Regions from separate parts of the Homo sapiens genome. Here regions 1, 2, 3, 4 and 6 are each linked to region 5. Evidence: promoter capture Hi-C in 16 types of primary human blood cells and fetal thymus (Javierre and others, 2016). All regions are on one chromosome and are shown on one strand. Each heading gives the region's core, a stretch centred on a gene start or on the middle of the fragment in contact. The rest is flanking DNA. Distances are from core to core; before and after follow the strand shown. Region 1 overlaps UVRAG (UV radiation resistance associated). Region 2 overlaps GDPD5 (glycerophosphodiester phosphodiesterase domain containing 5). Region 3 holds the start of RPS3 (ribosomal protein S3). Region 4 overlaps DGAT2 (diacylglycerol O-acyltransferase 2). Region 5 holds the start of THAP12 (THAP domain containing 12). Region 6 holds the start of DGAT2 (diacylglycerol O-acyltransferase 2).

The links. The method cuts DNA at HindIII sites, captures the fragments that hold promoters and counts their contacts. A CHiCAGO score of 5 or more calls a contact.
Region 1: a contact is called between a fragment that was not itself captured here and the fragment with the promoter of THAP12 in region 5, in 3 of 17 cell types (naive CD8 T cells, naive CD4 T cells and non-activated CD4 T cells). The highest score is 6.2, in naive CD8 T cells.
Region 2: a fragment that was not itself captured here is called in contact with the fragment with the promoter of THAP12 in region 5 in 1 of 17 cell types (fetal thymus); the score reaches 5.1 in fetal thymus.
Region 3: a contact is called between the fragment with the promoter of RPS3 here and the fragment with the promoter of THAP12 in region 5, in 2 of 17 cell types (neutrophils and erythroblasts). The highest score is 8.7, in neutrophils.
Region 4: a contact is called between a fragment that was not itself captured here and the fragment with the promoter of THAP12 in region 5, in 1 of 17 cell types (neutrophils). The highest score is 5.4, in neutrophils.
Region 6: a contact is called between a fragment that was not itself captured here and the fragment with the promoter of THAP12 in region 5, in 2 of 17 cell types (neutrophils and fetal thymus). The highest score is 5.9, in neutrophils.

What each region holds. Positions count from the first base shown.
Region 1 is chr11:75,821,624-75,826,095 of GRCh38, forward strand. All of the region lies in intron 1 of UVRAG (UV radiation resistance associated), which reads left to right. Among named protein-coding and RNA genes, the nearest start is that of UVRAG, 8.6 kb to the left of the region's middle. RefSeq lists an enhancer at 2,793-2,872. The HindIII fragment of the contact is 1,019 bases long and covers 1,319-2,337 here.
Region 2 is chr11:75,520,900-75,525,335 of GRCh38, forward strand. It overlaps GDPD5 (glycerophosphodiester phosphodiesterase domain containing 5), which reads right to left. Exons shown (of 17, transcript NM_030792.8): 1 at 4,311-4,436. LOC105369389 (a long non-coding RNA gene) reads left to right here. Exons shown (of 6, transcript XR_007062784.1): 6 at 1-958. Among named protein-coding and RNA genes, the nearest start is that of GDPD5, 2.8 kb to the right of the region's middle. RefSeq lists enhancers at 2,416-2,465, 4,393-4,436. The HindIII fragment of the contact is 1,637 bases long and covers 2,189-3,825 here.
Region 3 is chr11:75,396,890-75,401,486 of GRCh38, forward strand. It overlaps RPS3 (ribosomal protein S3), which reads left to right and starts at 2,629. Exons shown (of 7, transcript NM_001005.5): 1 at 2,629-2,688; 2 at 3,805-3,935. The coding sequence starts at 2,659. It overlaps SNORD15A (small nucleolar RNA, C/D box 15A), which reads left to right and starts at 3,502; the gene lies at 3,502-3,649. RefSeq lists enhancers at 2,606-2,965, 3,192-4,055. The HindIII fragment of the contact is 4,256 bases long and covers 1,104-4,597 here.
Region 4 is chr11:75,784,140-75,789,098 of GRCh38, forward strand. DGAT2 (diacylglycerol O-acyltransferase 2) reads left to right here. Exons shown (of 8, transcript NM_032564.5): 2 at 479-607. Among named protein-coding and RNA genes, the nearest start is that of DGAT2, 18 kb to the left of the region's middle. RefSeq lists a silencer at 2,305-2,599. The HindIII fragment of the contact is 4,380 bases long and covers 1-3,440 here.
Region 5 is chr11:76,378,071-76,382,716 of GRCh38, forward strand. THAP12 (THAP domain containing 12) reads right to left here and starts at 3,062. Exons shown (of 5, transcript NM_004705.4): 1 at 2,678-3,062. The coding sequence starts at 2,766. It overlaps GVQW3 (GVQW motif containing 3), which reads left to right and starts at 3,253. Exons shown (of 2, transcript NM_001347885.2): 1 at 3,253-4,223. The coding sequence starts at 3,759. RefSeq lists an enhancer at 2,267-2,768 and a silencer at 2,411-3,340. The HindIII fragment of the contact is 4,414 bases long and covers 1-3,850 here.
Region 6 is chr11:75,766,677-75,769,176 of GRCh38, forward strand. DGAT2 (diacylglycerol O-acyltransferase 2) reads left to right here and starts at 2,102. Exons shown (of 8, transcript NM_032564.5): 1 at 2,102-2,436. The coding sequence starts at 2,316. It overlaps DGAT2-DT (DGAT2 divergent transcript), which reads right to left and starts at 1,971. Exons shown (of 4, transcript NR_046090.1): 1 at 1,818-1,971. RefSeq lists enhancers at 1-98, 1,405-1,905 and silencers at 1,992-2,101, 2,182-2,421. The HindIII fragment of the contact is 4,152 bases long and covers 1-2,500 here.

The sequences.
Region 1 (4,472 bases), core at 578-3,077, 560 kb before region 5:
CCACACCCAGCCAACCCTTAGTTTTTACCTGATGTCCTTCTTCCGTGCCAGGATCCTGTCTGGATACCACATTGTATTTAGTTGTCCTGTCTCTTGCCTCCTCTTAGCTGTGGCAGTTCCTCAGACTTTCCTTGTTTTTGATGGCCTTGACAGTTTTGAGTATTGGTCAGGTGTTTTGTAGGATGCCACTCTTCTGGAATTAGTCTGATGTTTTTTCTTATGATTAGACTAGGGTGGTGGTGTTTTGGGAGCAAGACTTAAGAGGTAAAGTGCCATTTTCATATATTACGTACATATTATTAACATGATTTATCACTGTTTTTTTTTTTTTTTTTTTTGAGACAGAGTTTCGCTCTTGTTGCCCAGGCTGGAGTGCAATGGCACAATGTCAGCTCACTGCAACCTCTACCTCTCAGGTTCAAGCAATTCTTCTGCCTCAACCTCCTGAGTAGCTGGGATTACAGGCACCCGCCACCATGCCCAGCTAATTCTTCTATTTTCAGTAGGACGGGGTTTCACCATGTTGGCCAGGCTGGTCTTGAACTCCTGACCTCAGGTGATCCACCCACCTTGGCCTCCCAAAGTGCTGGTATTACAGGCATGAGCCACCATGCCTGGCTGATTTATCACTGTTGATTCTAACTTTTATCATCACCAGCTGTGGTAGCATATGATAGGAAAGGCAAACTAGCTGTTTTCTCCTATTACACTGTTATACTATCAGCATAACCCTTCTGACATTAGATGTGTGGGGCTTTTTCCCCACACACCAAGCGATCCTCCAGTGAACACCAATATGGTGTCCTATGATTCAATTCAATTCTGCCACAATCTCCTTAGAGTTAGTATCATATTCCACAAGTTAAAGGCTCAGACCCATAAAACTGTCCCCTACTTCACATGCCAGACGTAAGTCTGGGTCTCTGGAACTTCTTACCGACTGGCTATAAATTGGGGGTTCCTATGTTCCCCTCCTCAGGCTCAGTCATTTACTAGAGCAGCTCACGGAACTCAAGAAAGCACCTTGCTTGCACTTACTGTTTTTTTTTTTTTTTTAAATAAACAATATTACACAGGATACAGACGAGCAGCCAGATGGAAGATATCATAGGGAACAGTATGGGGGAAGTGGCCCAGAGCTTTCATGCCCTCTCATGGCAGCTCCACCCTCCACATGTTCAGCAACCCAGAAACTCTCCAAAACCTGTAGTTCTGTGATTTGTATGGAGGCTTCATCATGTAGGCATGATCAATTATTAAGTCAGTCTTCAGCCCCTCTCCCCTTCCTGGAGGATGGGGAGTGGGGCTGAAAGTTCCAAGCTTCTGATCATGGCCTGGTCTTTCTGGTGACCATTCTCCTTCTAGGAGCTCACCAAGAGTTGTCTCATTAGAACAAAGGATGTTCCTCACCTAGGAAACGCTGAGGGACTAGGCGTTGTGTCTGGAACTGGGGTCAAAGACCAAATATGAAAAGTAAAGATTCTCCTAGTACCCCTATGGCACCCAGGGAATGACAGAGGTTTTAAGAGCTCTGCACCAGGAACTGTGTACAAAGACCAAAGTATATATTTATTATTGTAAATTGAAGGGCCACAGGTAGTGTTTGTCAGGTTTCTCTGCTATAAGGTTACTCTTCCTCCCCTTCCCTCTATACTGTAGTCTTTGGAAGGAAGTCACTATGTGTAGTCCACACTTGAGTGAGATCTGTGCTCCCCCTTCTTGAGGGTAGAGTATCTACATAAATTATTTGGAATTTTTCTGTATGGGAGATTAAATCATGGCTCATTTCAGCCTCTAACTCCTGGACTCAAATTATGTGCCTCAGCCTCCCAAGTAGCTGGGACCACAGGTGCACACCACCATGCCTGGTTCATTTTTTAATTTTAATTTTTGTAGAGACAGAGTCTTGCTATATTGCCCAGGCTGGTCTCTACCTCCTGGCTTCGAGCAATCCTCCCGCCTTGGCCTCCCAAAGCATTGGTATTACAGGCATGAGCGACTGCACTGGGCCGGTAACTTAAAGTCACACAGAGTGTCAACAAAGGGACTACAATCTAGGTGTTTCCTGTTTGCCCTAGACACCCATTCTTTGCAGGGTTCTGGTGAAAAGTTTTAAGTACCTCAGAGTTTGGGACCATCAGGCTTTATATTTTATTTCCTACAGCACTTGTGCCTAACACTGTGCTGATGATTTAGTAGGAACTCATGTACAGTTTTTTTGTTTATGAGTCTTTCCCTTGAAGAACTTTACAGCCTAAAGAGAACAAGGAAAGATTGGATTCAGTGGTATTGAAACCCATGCAAAAAAACATGATAGAAGCAGAAAAGTAGATCTAAAGCTTGATTTTGCTGTATAGGATAAATATTTTCCCTTTCTGTGTTTATGTTTATTTGGATACCCTACTTTTGCTAATCTAATTTAATCATTTTTCTATTACTAAAAAAAAAATCAGCTTTATTGGCAAGGCCGTTCATCTTATCAGGAACATGTGCCTCACGCAATGCACTACCATGCCGTGTACATTCATTCCTTCTGCAAATATTTACTAAGCCCCTTGTAACTCGAAGAAAAAATGTAATATATAGTTGAGTATCTAAAAAGTAAAATGATGGCAATTTTTTGTGCTGGTTTGGCTCTTATAAATAAAATGATATGAGGAAGCCTCAGAAACTTAAGATATCAGCATCTTGAAATCATTATTTTTATGTGACAAAATGCTATTAGGAATTTATGTTTTTTGTTTGTTTCTCTTTTTCCTGTGAAAATGAGTTTTTTTTTTTTTGAAAGGAAAAGCTATGTTTATTTAGTGTTTACTTTAAAATGTCTCTACAGGATCACAATTCTTTGTGGTAGAAAATTCAGAAGTGAAACTGACTAGAAATAGAGCACAAGCAGAATTGAAACTAATAAGTTGGGCCTGAAGTGAAACGTATGGTAGAATGAAAAAAAATTAGATTTTCATAGTTTCCAAATGTGTATTTTTGATAAGCTGTGTATTTTTACCTGTCAGACATGTTACTGCTGGGGAGAAAAAGAAGTTTGTCATTTTTTTTTTTTTTTTTTTTTTGAGGCGGAGTCTCACTCTGTCGCCCAGGCTGGAGTGCAGTGGCACGATCTCGGCTCACTGCAAGCTCCGCCTCCCGGGTTCACGCCATTCTCCTGCCTCAGCCTCCCTAGTAGCTGGGACTACAGGCGCCTGCCACCACGCCCGGCTAATTTTTTGTATTTTTAGTAGAGATGGGGTTTCACCGTGTTAGCCAGGATGGTCTCGATCTCCTGACTTCATGATACGCCTGCCTCGGCCTCCCAATGTGCTGGGATTACAGGCGTGAGCCAGCGCGCCCGGCCAAGTTTGTCATTTTCAACGTACTGGAATGTGTACAGCTACAAACTGAAGGTGTTTTAGAAAAAGACATCTGTCTTATGAGAGAGGTTGAAACATTTTAGGTTTATGCTTTGTTTTAGGTTTAATGACATAAGTAATGTCTTTTTTTTTTTTTTGAGACAGCGTTACCCTGTTGTCGCCCAGAATGGAGTGCAATGGCACGATCTCAGCTCACTGCAACCTCTGCCTCCCAGGTTCAAGTAATTCTCCTGCCTCAGCCTCCCGAGTAGCCTCCCGAGTAGCTGGGGTGCCCACCACCCCACCTGGCTAATTTTTGTATTTTTAGTAGAGACGGGTTTCACCACATTGGCCAGACTGATCTCGAACTCCTGACCTCAGGTGATCCACCTGCCTCGACCTCCCAAAGTGCTGGGATTGCAGGCATGAGCCACTGTGCCTGGCCAGTAAAGTCTTATATTGTTAAATTTTTTCAATGCCTTGTACAGTATTTTAGCAGTTGCCTCCTTAGATTATAAAAGTAGACGAGTACACACAGAATGGAAACTTGACATTGGAATTTTACAATTCATAGTATACCTTCTTGATTTAGTATCACATAACCTTGTTTTCCATCTTATTTTAAGATGGAAACATGAATTTTGAATCATGGAATTTTGCAGATGCAAAACCTGAAGCCCTCTGAGGTGAAGCTATTTGCCTGGCCACAGACTTGTTCTAGCTATTTATTCTTGCCCTGGAGTATTTAGTAAAGAGTATTAGTTTAACAGATCTGTCTTGTGTCTTGTTCCTGCTTGTGGCAGAGAAATAAACAGAACCTGGGTCTTGTGAACAGTTCCACTGTTCTTGGCTGGGTGTGTTGAGAAGTTGTTTCTTTTTTTTTTTTGAGATGGAGTTTTGCTCTTGTCACCCAGGCTGGAGTACAGTGGTGTGATCTCGGCTCACTGCAACCTCCACCTCCTGGGTTCAAGCGATTCTCCTGTCTCAGCCTCCTTAGTAGTTGGGATTACAGGCGCCTGCCAGCACGCTCGGCTAATTTTTGTAATTTTAGTAGAGATGGGGTTTCATCACGTTGGCCAGGCTGGTCTCGAACTCCTGACCTTAGGTGATCCACCCACCTTGGCCTCC
Region 2 (4,436 bases), core at 1,757-4,256, 860 kb before region 5:
GCCAGCTAATGACCATGCTGCCTGCAGCTCAGGCCACCACCCTCCTTTGGGCGAGGCAGCTACCCACACAGCCTGCTGGCCCAGACAGTGGCCAGGCCAAAAATCACAGCTGCCCGTCATACCACATCCTCTGGCCCTGGTGCTGTGGTCTCCTCCTCCTCCCTCCAGGGTCACGAAAGACGATGTAGAAAGCTGGAGCTACAGGGGAGCTCAGAACCCACCCTGCTCCCCATAGACATGGACACACGGGACCCCAGAGAGGGGCCGACTCACCCCAGGTCACACAGACAACCAGCCAGCCTGTGCACGGCCTAGGGCCCAGGTCCTTCCTGGGCCCCATGCTCAGTCCAACACTGCCCTTCCTTAGCCTTGAGAAAAAACCTTGTCCAGGCTTTTTACACACAAAGTATGCTTTCAAGGTACTTGGGTGGAGGTGAGGAGACAGGACATCTTCTAAGCACAGATTTACAATTCAAACAGATGCAGCTTGGCTCCCTGCTCCCTACCTTTGAGCTGTGTGACCTCGGGCAAGATCAGGTACCTCTCTGAGCCCCAGTTTCTAGGGGATAACAGTAGCTACCTCAGGGAGTTTGTGTGAACAAGAGTGTCTATAAAACATTTAGCACATTGTCTGGCTCATAGTAAGTACTCAAGATATCAGCTGTTGTTGATATCATCACTGTAGTATTGTGTGGATACATTTTACAAACTGCAAAATGTTATGGATAGTAGGTATTATTTTTTACTATTACTGCTGAATGTTAAAGATTCAGAGGGGGCATGACCAGAGGGTTGGGTAATCCAGGAATGTTTCTGAGGGAATTTATGACCTCAGTCAGGTCTTGACAGGTGGGGAGGTAAGTGGAGCAGAGGCAGGGATGGCGGTTCTGATGGGAGGAACCACAAACAAAGGGGCTGTGATGGGGCCACATGTGGTGTGTTTAGGAGACAGTGCAGAGCAATGAGCCAGAAGGCCGGGCAGAGGCTAAGGTGACCAAGGACCTGAATGCCATAACTAGGGCCTGGTCTTCATCTTACAGGCCGTAAGGAGCCACAGAGGCTTCTAAATGGGGGCTCCATTAAGCTTTCTGAAATGTGAGTTCTGTCTAACATTCAAGGCCCTCTCCTATATGGGCATTCACCCCTCACTAACCCCACCAAGCCATCCTCCTCGCCCCAAGTTCTCCCTACCTCTCGGCTTACCACGCTATCCCACCTGCCCCGCCACTAGCCCACTAGCTCACACTCATGATGAGGCACCCCCTTGTTGAGTGCCTAAAGTGCCGTGTGTTTCACACATGGGACCTCAAGATGATCCTTAACAGCCTTGAGAAGTGGACATCACAACCGTCATTTCACAAAGGGGGAAATGGAGGCCTGATGGGATCATGTGTCTTTCCCATGCTCTCAGTGAGGCGGTGGCACAGCCAGGATTCCTTCTTGGAGGGATGTCAGGACCCCCCGTCTTTGCAGCAAGTTTCCTCTAGCTCCTGCCCAGACAGCCACCTCCCTGACAAAGCCTTCCTGGTTACTCCAGTCCTCAAGGGCCTCCCCTCCACCCCTTTCTGCCCTGTACCCTCCCCCTTACTCCTCCCCGTCACCACCTCTCTGGAATCAGAGGCCCACTTGATCCTAGCTCAGCTAGCTTGGTTCCCAGTGTTGCCTGTGGGACCATCTGGCCCCCAACAGAAGAGACAGGACATCATCAACCCCAGCTCTCTCCTGTTGGGGGCCAGATGACACTTTCTCCCTGTCCTATCCTGCCTGCCCCCCCATATCCAAGACTGCTAACAGCACAGACAGGAGCCCCCACCTCCTCTGGTAGGGTTCAGAAGCTCACTGAACATAGAGCTATTTCCCTGAGCCTGCCCCCAGCTGAGGGGAGTATTAATTATTCACTGCACCTTGGTGCCTAGGGAGGTCAGACAATGGGCCCGAGGGAATGGACACCAGCTCCAGGCACCACAGCCCTGCCAGCAGGAAGCCAAGGGAGGGGGTAAGAATCCAGAGCCCCTTGCCGGTGTCCCCAAGCAGACTGATTCTAGAGGCTATGAGACTAGGGGAGTGTGACCCACACAGCAGCCTGAGCTGAGCAAATTCAGGTCTCTGAGCCTGCCCTGCAACCATATCCTGCGTTCTAATCGAAGACAAGTCTGAGAATTTCCCCAGACTTCCTGGTCAAACTTCAAGCTTCCTTTTCTTCATAGGGATGGAAACGGATATTTGGCCAGGCACTGCATCTTTGTAGCTCATTTAATCCTCGCAACAACCTGCTAAAGGAGGTATTCTAATTTTATAGGCTCAGAGGGATGAAGTGATTTGCTCAGTGCCACTCAGCTAGTGGGAGGCACAGTAGACTCACGCCCACCTGGTCTGTCTGATTTACCACTATCTGGGATTCACCAGTTACTGTGGCTCGAGGCTGCCGCTTAGCCCGTCTGGGTAACTTCCAGGGCACCTGGTATGCAGCTGGCACTCAAACAGTTCTACAAGCAAACTCAAAGGCCCTGGGGAAGTGGTTTTACCTCTCTGAGCTTCAGTTGCCCACACGAGACTGGGCCATTAATAACCTCCCCAGTCTTGGCAAGTACAACATGCCCCTTAGCACTTGACAGCCAGATGTGATGGCCCCACTAACTGAGCAGGTAACACACAGCCTGCCATAACCTATTTTAAAGTGGCACTTGGAACCATGGATGCATCAAGAGGTCACAAGTGACTCTGCAACCCTCCTCTGCTTCACTCTAGGTTCCAGGCTCTCTCCACGTCATGAAAGGAGATCACAGGTGTGAAATTATTTCATCAAAGAGCTTTGTTTAGACATAGAGATTATTGCGAGGATTTGAAGCCCCAGACAGAGGTCTGGGGTAGAGGGAATCCCAAGCCCCTCAGTCACCTTGTCTTTTGGGATCCCCTAACCCTTCCACCCCCAGGGATTGAGCTTCAGACTTCCACAGACCTCTCACCACGCTCCTCCACCTTCCAGGGGCTTTCCAAGGTGGTTTCCCCTTGACTCCAGGGAGTTGGGCATCTCTAGGGTTAACTAGGCCTAGCCAAGGCCACAGGGCCCAGACCAAGGCCATATCCCCTCCCCGTCCCCACACAGAATAAGAGCCCACAGAGTCCATGCCAAGGGCTCTTTCACAACACCCCTCTCCCTACATGCCTTGGGGGCAGCAGAAGCATCCCCTGCCTGGGAATAAAGACACCTGGGACTGTGCCCCAGCCCTGGGAGCCCCCAGCCTTGAGACCTTGAGCAGGTCCCTTCCTTCCTGGGCAGAGGTATCCTGCAGGTTCCCCTGCCCAGAAGAAAATGAGGTTGGACCTTCCATTTGGGCCAAAGGCAATGCGGTTGCAGGCATTCCTCGGGGCCCCAGCAACCAACCACACTAATTCTCACCACAGCCTCATACATGGTCGCCCAGATCTCACATCAGCGATAGGGAAAGCCCCAGCCACCTATCCAGAAGATCCTAACTGGGGAGGAGTGTGCATACCTTGAAGGATGCTCAGGAAGGTTTTCTCAAGTCTACTTGTGGCTCAAGGACTCACTGGCTTTAGGATCGGACAACTGGCACTCCCTTCGGGTGGGCCTCAGTGTCCCCATTAGTAATGTGAGGGAGGTGAGTCACGTGAGCCACATCTCCAGCCACCCCAGAGGGGCTACATCTCCAGCTCTGACAGACCCTTACTTGGGGATCTCTGCAGTGAATTCACCAACAGATAAGCACGTCTCAGGACCTCCAGAGTGTCTTAGAGACCCTGGAGTCTGACACACAAGGGCCAGGAGCTGCTGCTCTCACATCCTGGGCCCACAGGGAGAGAAGCTTTGGAACTGGGAAGCTTCCCACCTCTACCCTCAACTCTGAGTCACCTTTCCTCGCGGGTGACATGGCCAGGGAGCGGGAGGCAAGAAGAAGCCACTTCCTCAGCTTTAGCATCAGCGCTCAAGTGCTCTGCCTCTTCCCCCTCTATCCTCTCCCGCTTCCCCAGTCTCCTCCCCGCAGTGAAAGGAGGTCACTCAGCCCCGTTAAGCCTCAGTTTCTCCATCTGCAAGCGCCGATAATAATACACAACACCTATTTCAGGAGTAGCAGTGAGGCTTAGGCGGGGCGGGGCGGGGCAGGGCGCGAACCCGCACACAATGGGCGCTCAATAAGTACCCGTTTTCTTTCTTTCCCCTCCCCTTCCCGCGCCCCCTCCCAGCCAGTTCCAGCCTCTGCTTGTTTCCCCTGACACTCCCTCCGCTGGCCCCCGCGCTGCCGCGATGGGGTCGGGGACCGCTCCTGCCGCGCATCCGGGGCTCTCACCTGCAGCCTTGGCTCTCGCAGGCCGCCGGGACAGAAGGGGACCCCTGTGTTATCTTCGGGGCAGGCGCTGAACCCCTCACCTGAGGCGGGACGAAGGTGACAGCCTGGGCTCGCGGCACCAGCCCG
Region 3 (4,597 bases), core at 1,379-3,878, 980 kb before region 5:
AGGGCAGTGGCTTTGACCATGGCTTACTGCAATTCCACCTCTCGGGTTCAAGTGACTCTCATGCCTCAGCCTCCCAAGTAGCTGGGATTACAGGCGTGCACCACCACACTAGGCTAATTTTTGTATTTTTAGTAGAGATGGGGTTTCACTATGCTGGCCAGGCTGGTCTCAAACTCACGACCTCAGGTGATCCACCTGCCTCGGCCTCCCAAAGTGCTGGGATTACAGGCATGAGCCACCGCGCCCATCCACTTTTTGTCATCTTCCCTGGTCCCTCTGCTCAGCAACCACAGAACTCTGTTAATTCCGTGATTATAGGACAGGTCACTTTACATCAGAGTTGTTTTAGAGCTGGAGTTAAACACTCCAATGGCTTCTAGGACCAGAAAATAACTGAGTGGTGCTGCCAGGGAGTGTGGCACCTTGGAAAGACTCTTTTTGTGTAACAGGAAAGGAGAGCACTGCCCATGAAGAAATGTGGGTTCACTATTTTGCTAGATATTTCTATATCCTTAAGAAAAACCTAAAATAGTTTTAGAGAGAAATACCCTGACTTTTAAATGAAGAAAACTATTCAAACTTAAAATAAAACTGTTGGCTGGGTGCGGTGGCTCACGCCTGTAATCCCAGCACTTTTGGAGGCCGAGGTGGGCGGATCACAAGGTTAGGAGTTCAAGACAAGCCTGGCCAACATAGTGAAACCCTATCTCTACTAAAAATATGAAAATTAGCTGGACATGGCGGTGCTTGCCTGTAGTCCCAGCTACTCAGGAGGCTGAGGCAGGAGAATCGCTTGAACCCGGGAGGTGGAGGTTACGGTGAGCGGCGATCGCACCACTGCACTCCAGCTTAGGCAACAGAGTAAGACTTCGTCTCAAAAATAAATAAATAAATAAAATAAAACTGTTATTGAAGTGTTTAGGGGTAAAGTTTACCAATGTCTGCAACTTACTTTGAAATGCCTCAAAAGATGTATTGGTGGGTGGCTACAGGGATGAGTAGATCCACGATAAAGCAACAGCAAAATATTAATTGTAGCATCATTCTCAATTCCCCCTCAGCTTGGTGATGCATACACGTACAGTTTTTTCAACTGTTCTGTAAGCTTCATTAAAAAATGAAGGGACATTTTTAATTTTTTATTTTTTTTAGACTGAGTCTCACTCTGTTGCCCGGGCTGAGTGCAGTGGCACAATCACGGCTCACTGCAGCCTAGACCTCCTGTACTCAAGCAATCCTCTCACATCTCCCTCCAGAGTAGCTGGGACTACAGGCACACACCACCACACCTGGATAATTTTCTTTTTTCACTTTTCATAGAGATGAGGGTGTCTCATTCTGTTGCCCAGACTGGTCTCAAACTTCTGGCCTCAAGCTATCCACTTGCCTTGGCCTCCCAAAGTGCTAAGATTACAGGCCTGAGCCACTGCACCTGGCTAGAATTTTTTTTAATTGAAAAAGAAGGCCAGGCACGGTGGCTCATGCCTGTAATCCCAGCACTCTGGGAGGCTAAGGCAGGTGGATCACTTGAGGTCAGGAGTTCAAGACCAGCCTGGCCAACATAGTGAAACTTCATCTCTACTAAAAATACAAAAATTAGCTGGGTGTGGTGGTGTGCACCTGTAATCCCAGCTACTCAGGAGGCCAAGGCAGAAGAATCACTTGAACCTGGGAAGTGGAGGTTGCAGGGAGCTGAGATCGTACTACTGCACTCCAGCTTGGGCAACCGGAGAGAAAAGAAAGAAAGGAGAGAAAGAGAGAGAGAAAGAGAGAGGAAGGAAGGAAGGAAGGAAGGAAGGGCGGGCCCATGGGACCTTCTGGGACTTCTGTTACAAATTGTAATGGACTTGATGAAAGTAAGGTGGGGTAAATGAGAACAACATAAAGGACACAGAACGCAGTCCCTAGGACACTTAGTAAGTATCAGGTTTTATTATTATCATTTGGAATGGAGGAAATGGGTACAGACTGGGGGACATGAGTTGTTTTGTTTGTTTGTTTGTTTGTTTGTTTGAGACAGAGTCTCACTCTGTGGTCCAGGCTAGAGTGCAGTGGTAGGATCTTGGCCCACTGCAACCTCCATCTCCCAGGTCCAAGCAATCCTCCCACCTCAGCCTCCCGAGTAGCTGGGATTACAGGTGCCCGACACCACTCCCAGCTAATTTTTCTATTTTTAGTAGAGACGGGGTTTCACCATGTTCGCCAGGCTAATCTCGAACTCCTGACCTCAAGTAATCCGCCCGCCTTGGCCTCCCAAAGAGGAGTCTTAAATGAGTTTCACTGAGGGATTTCAGCAGATTTTCATTACAGTGTCCACCCTGAAAGTGTAGGGGCCAGAGTTCCACGCTGGTTAATCTCTCTTGCTGTGTGAACTTATACCTGTAATTTCCACCTCTGCACCTCACATTGCTTGTTTTGAAACTATGAGAATTGAACTCTAAGGTCCCCTGAAGTTTAGAAGTCCTGCTGGATGAAGCCCCTTTCCTGTTCCTGCCTACATTCTTCTTTCCCTGGACGCCTTACTTACGTAAAAACTACATTTCCCATGAGCACCCACAGGCGTGCACGCAGCGCAGCCCTCCGTCGTCGCTCGCGCCCTTTATACTCACTTCCGCCCGCGAGCCACTTCCTTTCCTTTCAGCGGAGCGCGGCGGCAAGATGGCAGTGCAAATATCCAAGAAGAGGAAGGTGAGCCTCTGGGGACTGGGTTCGGAGAACGACGGCGCCGCGCGGGTCGAGGGCTTCTCGGGGTGCCACCGCGAGGCCTGCAGCTCCGTGGCCTGCCCTGGAAGCGGCCTAGGCTTCCTGGCGTTCCTGCGGGCCGCGGATGGCGGTGGATTGAGTGAGAGGCCCCAGCCAGGAGGGCGCTGTGTGGCCGGGTTCCAAGTGAAGCGCAGAGAGATGGGCACCAGGCGCCCCTTCTGTCCCGGAGAAGGCGTTTGTGAGCATTTGTCGGTCAACGGAATTAGTAAACGTGGTATTTTGAGGGCGTGTGTCATTTCCCTCATGTCTTATCCCGTGGTTTTGGGAAGAGAAGGCAGCAGTGTATTCTTGCCTTAACTGGTCGTTTCTGGGTACAGTCCGCTGGCCCCAGGACCTCAACTTGAAGGGTTGCTGACGGTTGCTTGCTCCGTCTGGGGACCCCGGGAGGAAGCTGCCTCGGATTTAACGCCTTGTCATTACATGGGATAGAACTGTGTAAAAATCATTAGCTTTAAAAATAGACAGTTTGTCATTTCGTATATACACTTCGATGTCAAAATTAAATCCACAACTTCTCGAGAGTTAGGATTTGCCAGCTCTGTTGGTACCGTAAAGCCAAATAACATGGCTGGGATTCTTTAGACGGTGCAGGTTGTGTCTACAAGTGAGAGAGCTTATATGTTAAGTCTACTATCTATTCCTTAACAGTGACAAGTACAGTGTCTTTGCTGTGCTGAATGAAGTGTAAATAGGCCATTAGAGCAGTTTCTTGTTTTGCATGTGGAACTGTTTTAAACCCTTCGATGAAGAGATGATGACGAGTCTGACTTGGGGATGTTCTCTTTGCCCAGGTGGCCTACTCTGTGCTGCGTTCTGTGGCACAGTTTAAAGAGCCCTGGTTGAAGTAATTTCCTAAAGATGACTTAGAGGCATTTGTCTGAGAAGGGTTGCTGCACTCCTGTTGGAACAAGGGTTTGGAACCATTGGTTGGAGGTATTTAGTTTTGGTGAGGGATGCATTGACTAATAAGACTAGACTGGCTCAGGCGAAAGTGAGCCTACACCGATCTCCTAATTTTGAACTTTGCTTTGTTTGGATTAGTTTGTCGCTGATGGCATCTTCAAAGCTGAACTGAATGAGTTTCTTACTCGGGAGCTGGCTGAAGATGGCTACTCTGGAGTTGAGGTGCGAGTTACACCAACCAGGACAGAAATCATTATCTTAGCCACCAGGTAAAACTCATTTGACTGGCCATCACCTATAATTGTTATAAATGCTAAGTTGGTTTATTTATTTATTTATTTTTTTGAGACGGAGTCTTGCTCTGTCCCCAAAGCTGGAGTGCAGTGGCGCGATCTCGGCTCACTGCAAGCTCCGCCTCCCGGGTTCACGCCATTCTCCTGCGTCAGCCTCCCGAGTAGCTGGGACTATAGGCGCCCGCCACCATACCTTGCTAATTTTTTGTGTTTTTAGTAGAGTTGGGGTTTCACCGTGTTAGCCAGGACGGTCTGGATCTCCTGACCTCGTGATCCGCCTGCCTCAGCCTCCCAAAGTGCTGGGATTACAGGCGTGAGCCACCGCGCCCGGCAGGTTTATCCTTTATGAACTTAAGGGGACAGACGGAACAGTGAATCTGGGCTTAGTGAATGTAATTGCTTCTTAAAAGCTAGATTTTAAGGCCAGGCGTAGGATCACTTAAGCTCAGGAATTCAAGATCAGCCGGGGCAACATGGGGAAACCCCCGCTCTACAAAAAATAAAAAAGGGTGTGGTGGTGCATGCATGTGGTCCCACCTATTCCAGAGGCTGAAGCAGGCGATGGCTTGAGCTCAAGAGGTTCAGGCTGCAGTGAGCCATTGGTGTGATCCAGCCTGGGTGACAGAGTGAGACCCTGT
Region 4 (4,959 bases), core at 1-2,500, 600 kb before region 5:
GGGGATGCTCAAAGTACACTTGGAGAAAAAAAACCATTGCAAATTGGATGTTGAACCTCTGTCCTTGGCCTCACAGACAGATAGCAAAATTAAATATTTGTACTAGATTCAGATAAGGGACAGGAGTTTGACTGGGGTGGAGGGGATGGGAGAGAACTGGCAATTATGAGAGACTTCCCAAGGCCTAGCCCTTGGACTAGCCTCTTTAGATACTTCATGTGGTCTCCAAAATGACCCCGAGTGCGATACCATTCCCATTGTGTATCTATAGAAACCAGGGCACAGGGGAGCATGCAGACAGCCCAGAGTTACAAAGCCATGAGGTGGAGGGCTAGGATCTGAACCCAGGTCTGTCTGATTCTATAGCTGATGCTCTTCTCATATCTAGAAGGGTACCTGTGGGAGGTGAGGTTTGTACTGGGGACCCCATGACTGGAGAGAAGGGTGACAGTGGACTGACATCTTCCCTCTGCTGTAGGCACTGGATCCAGCATCCTCTCCGCCCTCCAGGACCTCTTCTCTGTCACCTGGCTCAATAGGTCCAAGGTGGAAAAGCAGCTACAGGTCATCTCAGTGCTCCAGTGGGTCCTGTCCTTCCTTGTACTGGGTAAGCTGGGCCTTAGAGGGAGGGCAGGTGGGCAGGCAGTGTCCACTTCCCCAAAAGAGGTAGAGCAGGAGCCCTGCTCTACAGGGGTGAGGGAATAAGAGTAACTCTTACACATGCTGCCCCACAGCACCTTTCCACATCTATCTTTTGGGTCCCAGATCAAGTGCTCTACCCCTCAGCATGCATGAAGATTCAGCAAGATTCAGTGGGAGGTGGTGTGATAGTTCCCATTTACAGATGGGAAACCTCAAGTCTTAGAGAAGATAGGTAACTTGCCCAAGGTCACACAGATTTGAATCCCTGTCTACAGGACCCCCAAAGCCTGTGCCTTTCCCACAATGCCACCCTGCCCACCAACAGACATTTTCCAGCAGGTATGTTACTTTGCCTTAAGGTGGTTTGGTGCCAGGTTTAAGTCCTGAATCTCCTGCAGACAAGCTCTGTGACCTTACACAGGTTATTTGAGCTCTCTGAGTGTTAGTTTCCTCATTTTGAGTGTGAGGAAAGTGCCTGCTTCACATGGCTTTTTTGAGGATTGAAGATAAGAAATGAGAGCACCTGGCACAGGGCCTGGTCATGATGGGCCCCCATTACATGGGAATCATCGGGAGGTGCCCTCAGACCCCACTCCCAGCCCACACCCATCCTCAGCTGAGCACATTCCCCAGGTGCTTCCCGAGGCCTGCTCCCTGCTATCTCTCAGCACAGCCCACATCGGTGCTTTGGTTGCTTTTTCTGCAGGTCTGGCTAGATACCCTCACTCCTTAGGTTGCCATCCAGGCCAGGGGCAGGACAACACGAATGTCTGAGGGGAGGGAAGAAGCCTCTTGTTTTTCCCCAGACCCCTGTGCTCTCAGCATAGCAGGTAGCTTCCTCAGCACGTCAAGGCAGATGAACCTGCTCCAGAGCATCACAGAGTGCATTCCAGTGCCTGTGAGCCAGTCCCTCTGGGCAACCCACTCTTCGGGACTGTATAGGCTGGTAGGGGATCATCAGGACTTACCATGTCAGTGCTGAGCAGCTGTCCTTCAGGCAGGTGCATGGGGCGCTCTGAGACTGAGACCATGTTTGCAGGGCCAAGGGATAGAACTTCACAGGTGAGAAAATGCAAATTCACAAAGGTTCATCAACTACCTGCTACTGTGAAGCTCATTAAATGGCAGAGTTGGGATTTTAGCAGAAACTCAGTGCATTCCCCAGGGAGCCCACATTCCTGGAAGCCCAGAATTAGTGAACTGGGGCTGAAACAGCCAGTCTTCACCTTTAGGCCCAAGAACGGGCTTTGAGTGGGGGGATCCATGAACCCTTAAAATTAGATGCAAGATTATATATGAGTATGTGCACATTTTTCTGGGGAGAAGGGCCATAGCTGTCCTCAAAGTCTTACAGGGACAGGTAGCCTCAAGAAGACAAACACTGGTTGGAAGAACTGAGCAAACTAAACAGTCTCCCTCAGGACTCAGACCCCTAACATGGCTTGCATTTGGCCACTTACTAGAATCCTAGAGTAGTGAGCACAGTGTGACCCCTTCTTGTTAAAAAAGGAAGTGGAGGCCTGGCGAGGATGGAGCCTTACTTGGGGTCACATGAGAAGAAAGTACTGGGACCAGGACAAGAACCCAGGGACTCCAGCCTCCCAGACCCCCTGCCTAGTCTGCTACACCAGCTCTCTTTGTTCCCTGTTGCACCCCAAAGCTACCACTATCCCTGTCTTAATGGGTCTGGGCCTGGCTGGTAGGGAGCTGAGCAGCTTGTAGAACACCAGCTCACGCAGCATGTGATGGGGACTGGCCCCAGGCTATAGGTTAATAATTGATCAGACCCAACCACAGCCCAGAAACCGGCCCAGCATCTTCTCAACACCCTCGCCTGGCCTCACCTCGCCTCGCCTCGCATAGGTGGGAACCTGGCCTCGTTGGACAGGCAGATCTCCTGAGCTACTGCTAATTACTGCCCTCAGCAGCCCCAGCCACTCCTTCCCTCTGCCTCTCAAACCTGCTGGCAGAAGCTCACCTGGCAAGCAAAGACCGTGGTGGCCCTGTTGGTCTCTCCCTGGACCAGAGATTTTTCACCACTTTGTGCCATGGAACCCTCTGTCATTTTGATGAGGCCTATGCCCTTTCTCAGTGTTTTAGAGTATTTAATACAAGGTGCATTGGATTTCAAAGGAAACTACTGATAATAAAATATAAATATCTATACATTAAAAAAGCTGATTAGACATGTAGTAACAGGTGCCTTTTTATTACAGTAAATAAAAAGATCTAGCAGCACATGTAATAATTACTATAGTTCTTAAGTAGTGATGAGAAGAAATGATTTTTTTTAAGATATCTGCAACTGCTACAAAGTTATATGAAAATACCTTTGTTATTTATTTGTGTCATAAGTACTGCTGATAATTCTGTGATTTATTATATTGGTAAGTGAAGGAAATGCCACATTTCCATAAGAGATAAGTGAAAATTTAGATGTCATTTGTTTCCCCATCCAAGTCCATGGATATTGTGTGTCAGGCTGAGTAAGTTCAAACATCATATTTAATTTTCCCAATACCCTGTAAGGAAATTAAGGCTTAGGAATGGGGCTTGGCCAGCAAGTGGCAGGGCCAAGGCTCCAGGTCTGTTTGGTCTCAGAGTCCATGCTCTTCACCAGGCCACACTGCTGCCTTCCCTGCCATTGAGCATCCACAGGCTGCCCTGCACCACAGGCCTCGTGGCTTCAGAATTTTGTATCACAAGTGTCTTTGTAGGCCACCATAATGTGCAGGAAGCAGGTGATGTGTGAAAGTGGTCCTGAGCCTTCCATGTGTGGGGCAAAGCAGGGCCTTCTAAGCTTCTCATGAGCTCAGCAACAGTGGTTTTTACTGCAGCCCCACAACCTAAGAGCATGGAACCAGAGCCTGTTGTTCAGAGGACAAGGATTAGGCTCTGAGAAAGGAAGGTCATTTGGTGGATTTAGTTCATCCTTTTGCTCTTCCTGTGTTTGGTTTCTGGGGCTGGAGAGATTAATCTGACCTGGTTTCTGCTCCCAAGGAGCTCGGGCTGAAGGGCTGTCTGTTAGTGGGAGTCCAATGAGGGAGGCAGATGATGAAAGGGATGGTGAGTGGTTTCAGAGAGGGCTGTGGACACATAGGGGAGGGGAGGGAGCCCCCAGCTGAGAAAGGCCAGGCTAGAATTCAGTCTCTGGATACCCCATCAGGCCTCTTCTTCTCCATCCAGGCTGCCTCAGCAGCAGAGTAAGGACAAGTGGGTAGGGTTACCCCCCTTCCCAGAGAGACCAGCCCTCTAAGCAGTGGGGCCTGGAGCTCAGCCCCCTCTGGTCCTTTTACCCCTCAAGAGAGTTAGAGATTTCTGGAAGCTAGGTTTCCAGGATGCTCAGACCATAGCCTAAACCTCATCGTCCCTATCTGGCCCACCTGGAGCATCCACCTAGAGGATGCCACTAGAGGAGCCTGGATGCCTGTAGAGTCTGGGGGGCTAGAGTCTTCCCTTTTCAGGCCCAAGAAAGGGAATCAGGCAGACTGCTGAACAGTAAGTATGACTTTGTAGGCAGCCTTTAGACATAGCTATTCACCAAGCTACCGTAAGCTTTTCACAGTTTGCTTTTAACAGGCTCTTGTAGGCTGCACATGCTTCCCTAGAAACTTGTCTTCCCTTCTGCGATGTCACACCCCTAAGCTGGTCCTGAAAAATTGGACATCTCGTCACTCTGTATTCACTGTTCCTCCCAACAAGAGAGTTGTACCCTGTTTTTAGCTACCCTGGGGAGAGGCTGGCTCAGGAGTCTAGAACAGGGCTAGATTGGGGGGCAACAAGGGGCTACCATTTCCCTCCCTTTAGGCTCATGGAGAGTCTACATCCAGCCTTATCTTCTCCCATGGGAAACCAAAGGAGGCTCAACATGGTGAGAAGAGAGCATGACATCCAGAGCCAGGCAGCCTACAGCACCTGGGACCACCAGGGAATGGGCACACAGCAAGGGTTGGCCTCCCTTCTTGGGCAGTGGAAAAAGTCCTAGAAGGAGTCCATGCTTCTCCCACCAAACATGAGTACCTGCTGCCCTTGCCCTTGTGCTGAATGCCAAGGACCAAAGAAGATGCCTCCCCACCCAGTGTGGGAAATTCACAGGCAAGAGATGATATGTAGATAGTATGATATTGGGGAACACTTCTTGAAGAGCTGAGGTCTGAGATAGGCCTTAAAGGTTGGGTAAAAAATGGAAAGAGAGAAGCCCTGCTGAGGGCAGCTAGTGGCGAGCCATGAGATAAAGCAGGCATGGCACAAGCTCTCCTTCCTTTCTGTGCCAGGCTAGATTAGTCTCTCTTATGACCTACAGGCCCAGAACATGGT
Region 5 (4,646 bases), core at 1,812-4,311:
AGTCCAATTAGTCTATTTTTCTTTTTACTGCATGTATTTTGGTGTCATATCTAAGAATGTGGTGCCAGCCAAGCACGGTGGCTTACACCTGTAATCCCAGCACTTTGGGAGGCCAAGGCGGGCAGATCACCTGAGATCAGGAGTTCGAGACCAGCCTGGCCAACATGGCGAAACCCCGTCTTGACTAAAAAAAAATACAAAAATTAGCCAGGCATGGTGGCGGATGCCTGCAATCCCAGCTACCTGGGAGGCTGAGTGAGTAGAATAGTTTGTGAACATCGGTGGCAGAGGTTGCAGTGAGCTGAGACTGTGCCACTGCACTGCAGCCTGGGCAACAGAGTGAGACTCTCAAAAAAAACAAAAAACAAACAAGAATGTGCTGCCAAATCTAAAGTCATGAAGATTTATCTGTATTTTTTTCCTAAAAGTTTAATGACATAGCTCTTATATTTAGGCCTTTGATCTCAATAAAAGTATAGGCCATTTGGAGTTCATTTCTGTATATGGTATGAAGAAAGACATCTATTCTTTTTTTTTTTTCATCTATTCTTTCTTTCTTGAGACGGAGTCTTGTTCTGTCACCCTGACTGGAGTGCAGTGGCACGATCTCGGCTCACTGCAACCTCTGCCTCCTGGGTTCAAGCGATTCTCACGTCTTGGCCTCCTGAGTAGCTGGACAGGCACGCACCACTGGGCTCAGCTAATTTTTGTATTTTTTAATAGAGACAGGGTTTCCCTATGTTGGCCAGGCTGGTCTCGAACTCCTGACCTCAAGTGATCCGCCTGCTTAGGCCTCCCAAAGTGCTGGGATTACAGGTGTGAGCCACCATGCCCGGCCTAGACATCTATTCTTGAATGTCTATCAGGTCTCTCAAACCCAAACTTCTAGTATTCCTCTACCAAACCTGCTCTTCCCAGTCTTCCCTATCTCAGCAAATGCTCACGTTAAAAATCTTGAAGTCGGCTGGGCGCGGTGGCTCAGAGCCTGTTCTAGCACTTTGGGAGACCGACACAGGAGGACTGCTTGAAGCCAGGAGTTCAAGACCAACCTGGCCAACATAGATTTTTAAAATCTTGAAGTCGTCCTTAAGTTCTCTTTTTCTTTTACAATCTACCTCCAAACCATTAGCAAATGATGTTGGCTTCACCTTCAAACCATATCTCAAATTTACCATCTCCTCCTCTATTAATCTGGATTATTACAACAGCCTTTTAACTGGTCTTCCGGCTTTCACCTTTGCCTCCCCACAATCTAATGAGCAGCCACTGATCCTGTTAAAATTTAAGTCTCTGCTCTAAACCCTTCAATGACTTCCTATTTCACTCATAATAAAAACCATAGTGCCTTCCAAGACCTACAAGGTCCTACCTAAAGAATTTGCCCCTACCATACACACACCTTTCTGGTCTCATCTCACCTCTCTCCCAGTCCCTCTCCCTGGACTCCTGGTTGCCCTGTCTTTGCCTTCTTTGGAATGCTGCTGCCCAAGGTATCTCCATGGCTGGCCCCTTCACCTGGTCTTTGCTCAAATTCACCTTCTTAGTGAGGCCTTCTCTAATCACTGTATTTAAAATAGCAATTGTGCGTCCCTTGATACTACTTATTCCCCTACCCTCTAACCTTTGTTTATTTTTCTCCACAGTATTTATCATCATCCGACACACTACGTATTTTACTTGTTTATTCCCCCCCCATTAGAATGTAATCTTCATGAAAGCAAGGACTTCGATTTGTTCATCTGTAACCCCCACTGCTCACAACAATGCCAACACAAGTAGACCTTCAATAATTAATTGAACTAATTAATAAATAACATAAATTATAGTCGCCCGTTGCTGCACCTGTTCCCTTACTGGACTGAGAGCTTTCTGCAAGCAGTGACACCCTTATTCACCCATGAACTCCCAGCACCTAACATTTGCGCTCGGCACATAGTAGGCATTGATTTTAAATGAATGAACCAACAAGACAGGCCTATGAAACATCTCAGCCTTTCAAACACAGTCCCTATGCTATCATTCCCTAAATATGTCAGTGTGTGGGGGTTATCCGAAGGAAGAGGTTCCAATACCAATTTCCACGCCCTCACGCGTACACCCTCTGTTATCCCTACAATACCCAAGCGAGAAAATGAGTAACGGTGACAGCCAGAAAATGAATCCTGAACCGTGCAATGACAAGTCCGAAGGAGAAAGCAGTTGCGATGAGATGAAAGAAGGTAGCGGGACTCAAAACAGAAACACTGTCCCGGGGGTGGTGGCAAGGAGAGGGAAAGGCCCCAGTGGCCACAACCATAGAGTCCTGCTCTCTTTTGACAGCTAAGGAAACTAACGCCCAGAGAGGAAAGCGACTCCCCCGAGGTCACACAGCAAGTGAGCCACGGCGAGAACCCACAGCATCCCGCGTCCGCGCGCCGCCCCAGCTCCCTCGCGTTTGGGGTGGTGTCCTCCGCGCAGAGCCCCCACCAGCGCACGTGCTCCGAGGTCCCCGGACGCCCGCCCGCCCACGGCTCGGGGCCGGCTCCCCATCTCGGTCCAACGCTGGGGTCGACGGCAGTGCGCTGCGCCCGCCTCCTGCGCCCCTCTCAGCCAGCCCGGGAGCCCGCCAGGGGCCGGCGGCTGGCAGCGCTCACCGCGAAGGTGGGCCCGGGCCGCCCGCTCTGCGCCCGCCGCTTACCTGGCAGGGTCCCGCGGGAACCTGAAGAAGGCCAAGTCGGACTGCGTGCTCTTCCGCGTGCAGTTGGGGGCAGCGCAGAAGTTCGGCATCGTCGCCCGCCCGCCGGCCGGCCCAGCCCTCCCCTCCCCGCCTCCTCAGGGCAGTCCGCCCGCCCGTCGGGGCCGGGGAGGGGAGCCAGGCCGGCCGGCCGGCTCGGCAGGGCCGACGCGCGGGGGAGGGGCGGGCGGGCTAGAAGCCGCGAGGGCCAGGAGGGGTGCCGCGGTCCGAGGCCGGGCTGGGGACGCGGCTCCACAGTGCTGTGAGCGGCCGGGAGGATTTACCGCCGCCGCCGCCGCTGGTGCACCTCCCGCCCGCCCGAGACGCTGCCGCCTCCTTCCCACAATGCACCCTGACGCCCGGGGGTGCCCTCTCTTCCCTCAGCCTTCCTCCCCCGCCCCTCCTTTCCGCCTTCTCAGCAGGCGGGCACGCGCAAGGAAGCGCGCCTGCCGGGGTGTGGCGAGGCGGAGGCGGGACCTGGCGCGCGCCGCCGCAGTGCGACTGCGCACAGTCTAATCCGCGGGGAGAGAGAATTGCGCATGCGCGCCTGTCTCCCGGGACGCTAGAGCAGGCGGTTCCTGGGCTGCTCCGGTAGGTTTGGCGTGCGCGGGTTTCTGCAGATCTAGGGCGAGCTTGCACGTTACATCACCGATGCATCTCTTCTTGCTTGCTTAATTTGCCACCACTTAGGCCTTTCTTGCAGAATTCGCCATATACTCCTTAAGGGCCGCGGAATCGGAGCGACCTTGGTGACTGGCAAACTCTCGGCAGATGTGCGTGCACTGGTTTGATGCAGACGTGGTTGTAGGCGATTTAATTTTTCCCAGCTTTGCAGCGACTGTTGGCTTCCCAGAACGGATCTCCCCAGCCTCGACTGGAAGCTGAGGGACAAAAATTCATAAAAGCAATTACTCTTTCCCGGCGAGGCTTCTAGAAGAGCAAGAAGAGCGATATGATTACACCTGCAGCCCTATAAAGATTGATCTGTCCGTCTTTCCCTTACAGTCGTGGCCTGTTAAACGTTCCTGTGTTGTTCAGTGCCAGAATGAGTGACCGCTATTTAGAACAAAGGATTAGTATCAAATTTTGCGTGAAATTGAACAAGTCTGCAAGTGAGACCCACCATCTTTTAAAAGAAGCTTATGGGGATGAAGTCATGTCAAGGGCCAGAGTTTTTGACTGGCACAAAAGGTTTAAAGAAGGACGGGAAGATGTTCGAGATGATGCCCGAAGTGGGCGTCCAGTCACCCACCGAACAGATGACAATATCCAGAAGGTCAAGGACTTGGTTTGTTCAAACAGGCAGTTAACCGTGAGGATGATGGCTGAAGAGTTAAATTTAGACAAAGAAACTGTTAGGCTCATTTTGAAAGAAAACTTGAACATGAGGAAGATTTCTGCAAAAGTTATTTCGGGTGTTTTGAAGGGTGAGCCTAAACCACGAAAACTTGACTTTCGGTCCGATCTTTCAAAGGAAACTAGGAAAAATAGCTCATGTTTGAGGAAAAAGGTAACAGGTTCTGAAACATGGAGTTATCTCCAGGGTGAAGCTGGTGGGGAAATGCCCCTGCCGGTATCCCATCCCAGAGTCCACTACTCTGCCAGTCAGCTTCTGCAGGCGTCATCTTCAACAAGCCTTCCCCCCAGGGTAGCTGAGAATTGGTTCACCCCATGGTGAGAGGAATGTGAGTTAGCTGAACCAGAACTAGGATGCTGCCTCACTGTTAGGCACCTTCTTTGGCTGCTCACGTATTTTTCAGTCTTCACCACTCCTCCCTATGTGCCATGGCCCTCCTCATTACTCTTTGCTGGACTCTTGGACCATTTTCCTTGCTGTTCTCCATAACTTTGAAAAACTTTTGGCTGTTCCCTTCTGGTATTTGCTTGTTCTTGATTTCTTTTGCTCAACAAGTTTGGATTTCTTCTCTGCCCA
Region 6 (2,500 bases), core at 1-2,500, 610 kb before region 5:
ACTGACTTGCCCAGGGTGAGTGGGTGGGCCATGAGTTCCAGCCCAGGCCTCCTCCACAGGAGACCCTTCTGGAGCAGGCACGAGCCACAGACTGACCTGGGATCTTCCAGGCCAGCAGGAGTCTTGCCTCCAAGAGCACCCTCTCTGAGGAGAGGATGCCAGGATTTACTGGCACCTTCAGTATCCTCCTGGCTTCACTCCTCTTTGCCCAAAAACAAACCACACCTGTTTCTACCTCCCAGCCTTTGCACTTACCAGTCCCCATGTCTCCCCCCATCCCCCACATGTGGCATGCCACTAGCCTACCCTCAGTTTCCTAAAAGGCACTAAGATCTTTCCAGCCTCATGGCCTCACCACATGCTGGGAGCTCTGCCTGGAATGCTTTTCTTTCTACTCTTGGCCAATTCGGGCCTTGGGGCCCAGTAACACGGTTGAGAGATTTACTCCTGTGGCCTTGAGAGGGCTGAACAAATGGAAGCATCTCTAGGTTGCACCAGAGGCATCTATTACCTGCTGCCCTGTGCCTGTAACTTCTGTCATTCTCCTCTCCCCCTGTGAGAACATGATAAAGACCACAAAGGCAGGGAATTCCTCTCCTCTTATGCTGTGACCCCACAGCTATCTCGCTCCAGCTATGCCTAAGAAATCTGTCTTATCACTGACATGCTTGTTGTCCCCACTCGTTCCCTGAGCCTCCATCCAACAAGTCGCTCCACCACATGCTGGTGGATCTCGCTTCCTATGCTCTTCCCTAGATCAGGCCTTCCCTCCATTCCCTCTACCACTGCCGTGCCTTGAGGCTCATCCTCTCTCACATGGATCCCCCGCCCCTACAGCCTCCCCACTGCCCTCCTGACCTACAGCCTCTCCTGTCCATTTCCCATACCATGGCTAAGGACACTTAAAACCCACCTGACCAGCCATTTCCCTACTAAAGCTCTCCCAAGACCCGGCTCCCCCCCAATATCTCAAGAGTGGCACTCCCAAACCTCTCTCAGTTCAAGCACCCGCGCCTCTCACTTCAGCCTCATTTTCCACAGTTGCCTGGGCTCCAGCCACTCCAGGGCCCCCAGCCCTGCCCCAAACATGCTGGCTTTTCTAACACTTTATGCCTATCTTTCTGCTTTGCCCTCACACCTTCCATCTGCAAAATTCCTATTCATTAATGGGCAAACCATTCTGGAATGCTTTCTATGTGCCAGACACTACCTAGGCTCTTTTTATACCTTATCTCATTTACTTCTCAAAGTACCTCACAAAAATAATAATTATTATTCCCATTTTACAGATATGGAAACTGAGGCTCAAGAGAGGCAGGGCAAGAACTGGACTCCTAGTCTATCTGATTCCAAACCTGCTGTGCACCAACCTCTCTGGGAAGTGCACCAGCGCCCCCACTCCCCCAGCCCAGGGCAGAGTCTTCTCTACTCTGTGGTTCCATAGCCCCCTGGTTTCTCGCTTGTCCCGGCCGTTGTCACCAGTGACTGTGTGCGGCTGTCTCTGCTGCCCCCCAGCGTGAGCATCCCAAGGGCAGAACCTGGGCTGATCTGGCTGGGTCCCCAGCACCCAGCAGGGTATAGGTGCTCTGTGAGGTTTCTTAATAAAGAGATGGAAAGCCAGAAGCAGTTTGGGTGGTTGAGATACCCAGCCCTAACCTAACTAATCCTGATACCAGTGACCAAAAGCGGGACCTTCGCATCTTTGCTGCCAAAAGACAGCCCCTCCTAAAGAGTAAAGGCCCGACCCCCTGCACGCCCTCTGCCTGCACCGCACGTGCTTGGTTTTCCCCGCCCGGGTACTGGCCGCCGGGCCGTACCAATCTCCGCGGGGGAGCGCCCGGGGTCGGACTGAGGGAGCGAGGGGAATAACCGGGCGCGCCCCTTGGAAGCAGGGCTCAGAGCTGCTCTCCTCTCACGCATTCCCCGGATCCGCGCGGAGCAGGCTGCTGGCCAGCCCCGGGCCCGCGCCAAGCAGAGCCTCAGGTGCGGTTCCCCCACAAGCAAGTGGCGCGGGCGGCGGCTTAGAACGGCCCGCCCCGCCCGCCGCGTCGGCGCCTGCCCCGTTGTGAGGTGATAAAGTGTTGCGCTCCGGGACGCCAGCGCCGCGGCTGCCGCCTCTGCTGGGGTCTAGGCTGTTTCTCTCGCGCCACCACTGGCCGCCGGCCGCAGCTCCAGGTGTCCTAGCCGCCCAGCCTCGACGCCGTCCCGGGACCCCTGTGCTCTGCGCGAAGCCCTGGCCCCGGGGGCCGGGGCATGGGCCAGGGGCGCGGGGTGAAGCGGCTTCCCGCGGGGCCGTGACTGGGCGGGCTTCAGCCATGAAGACCCTCATAGCCGCCTACTCCGGGGTCCTGCGCGGCGAGCGTCAGGCCGAGGCTGACCGGAGCCAGCGCTCTCACGGAGGACCTGCGCTGTCGCGCGAGGGGTCTGGGAGATGGGGTGAGTGCCACGGCGCAGGGGTTATGGACCTGCGAGAAGATTTTCTGGAAAGGGCCCTGTGGCA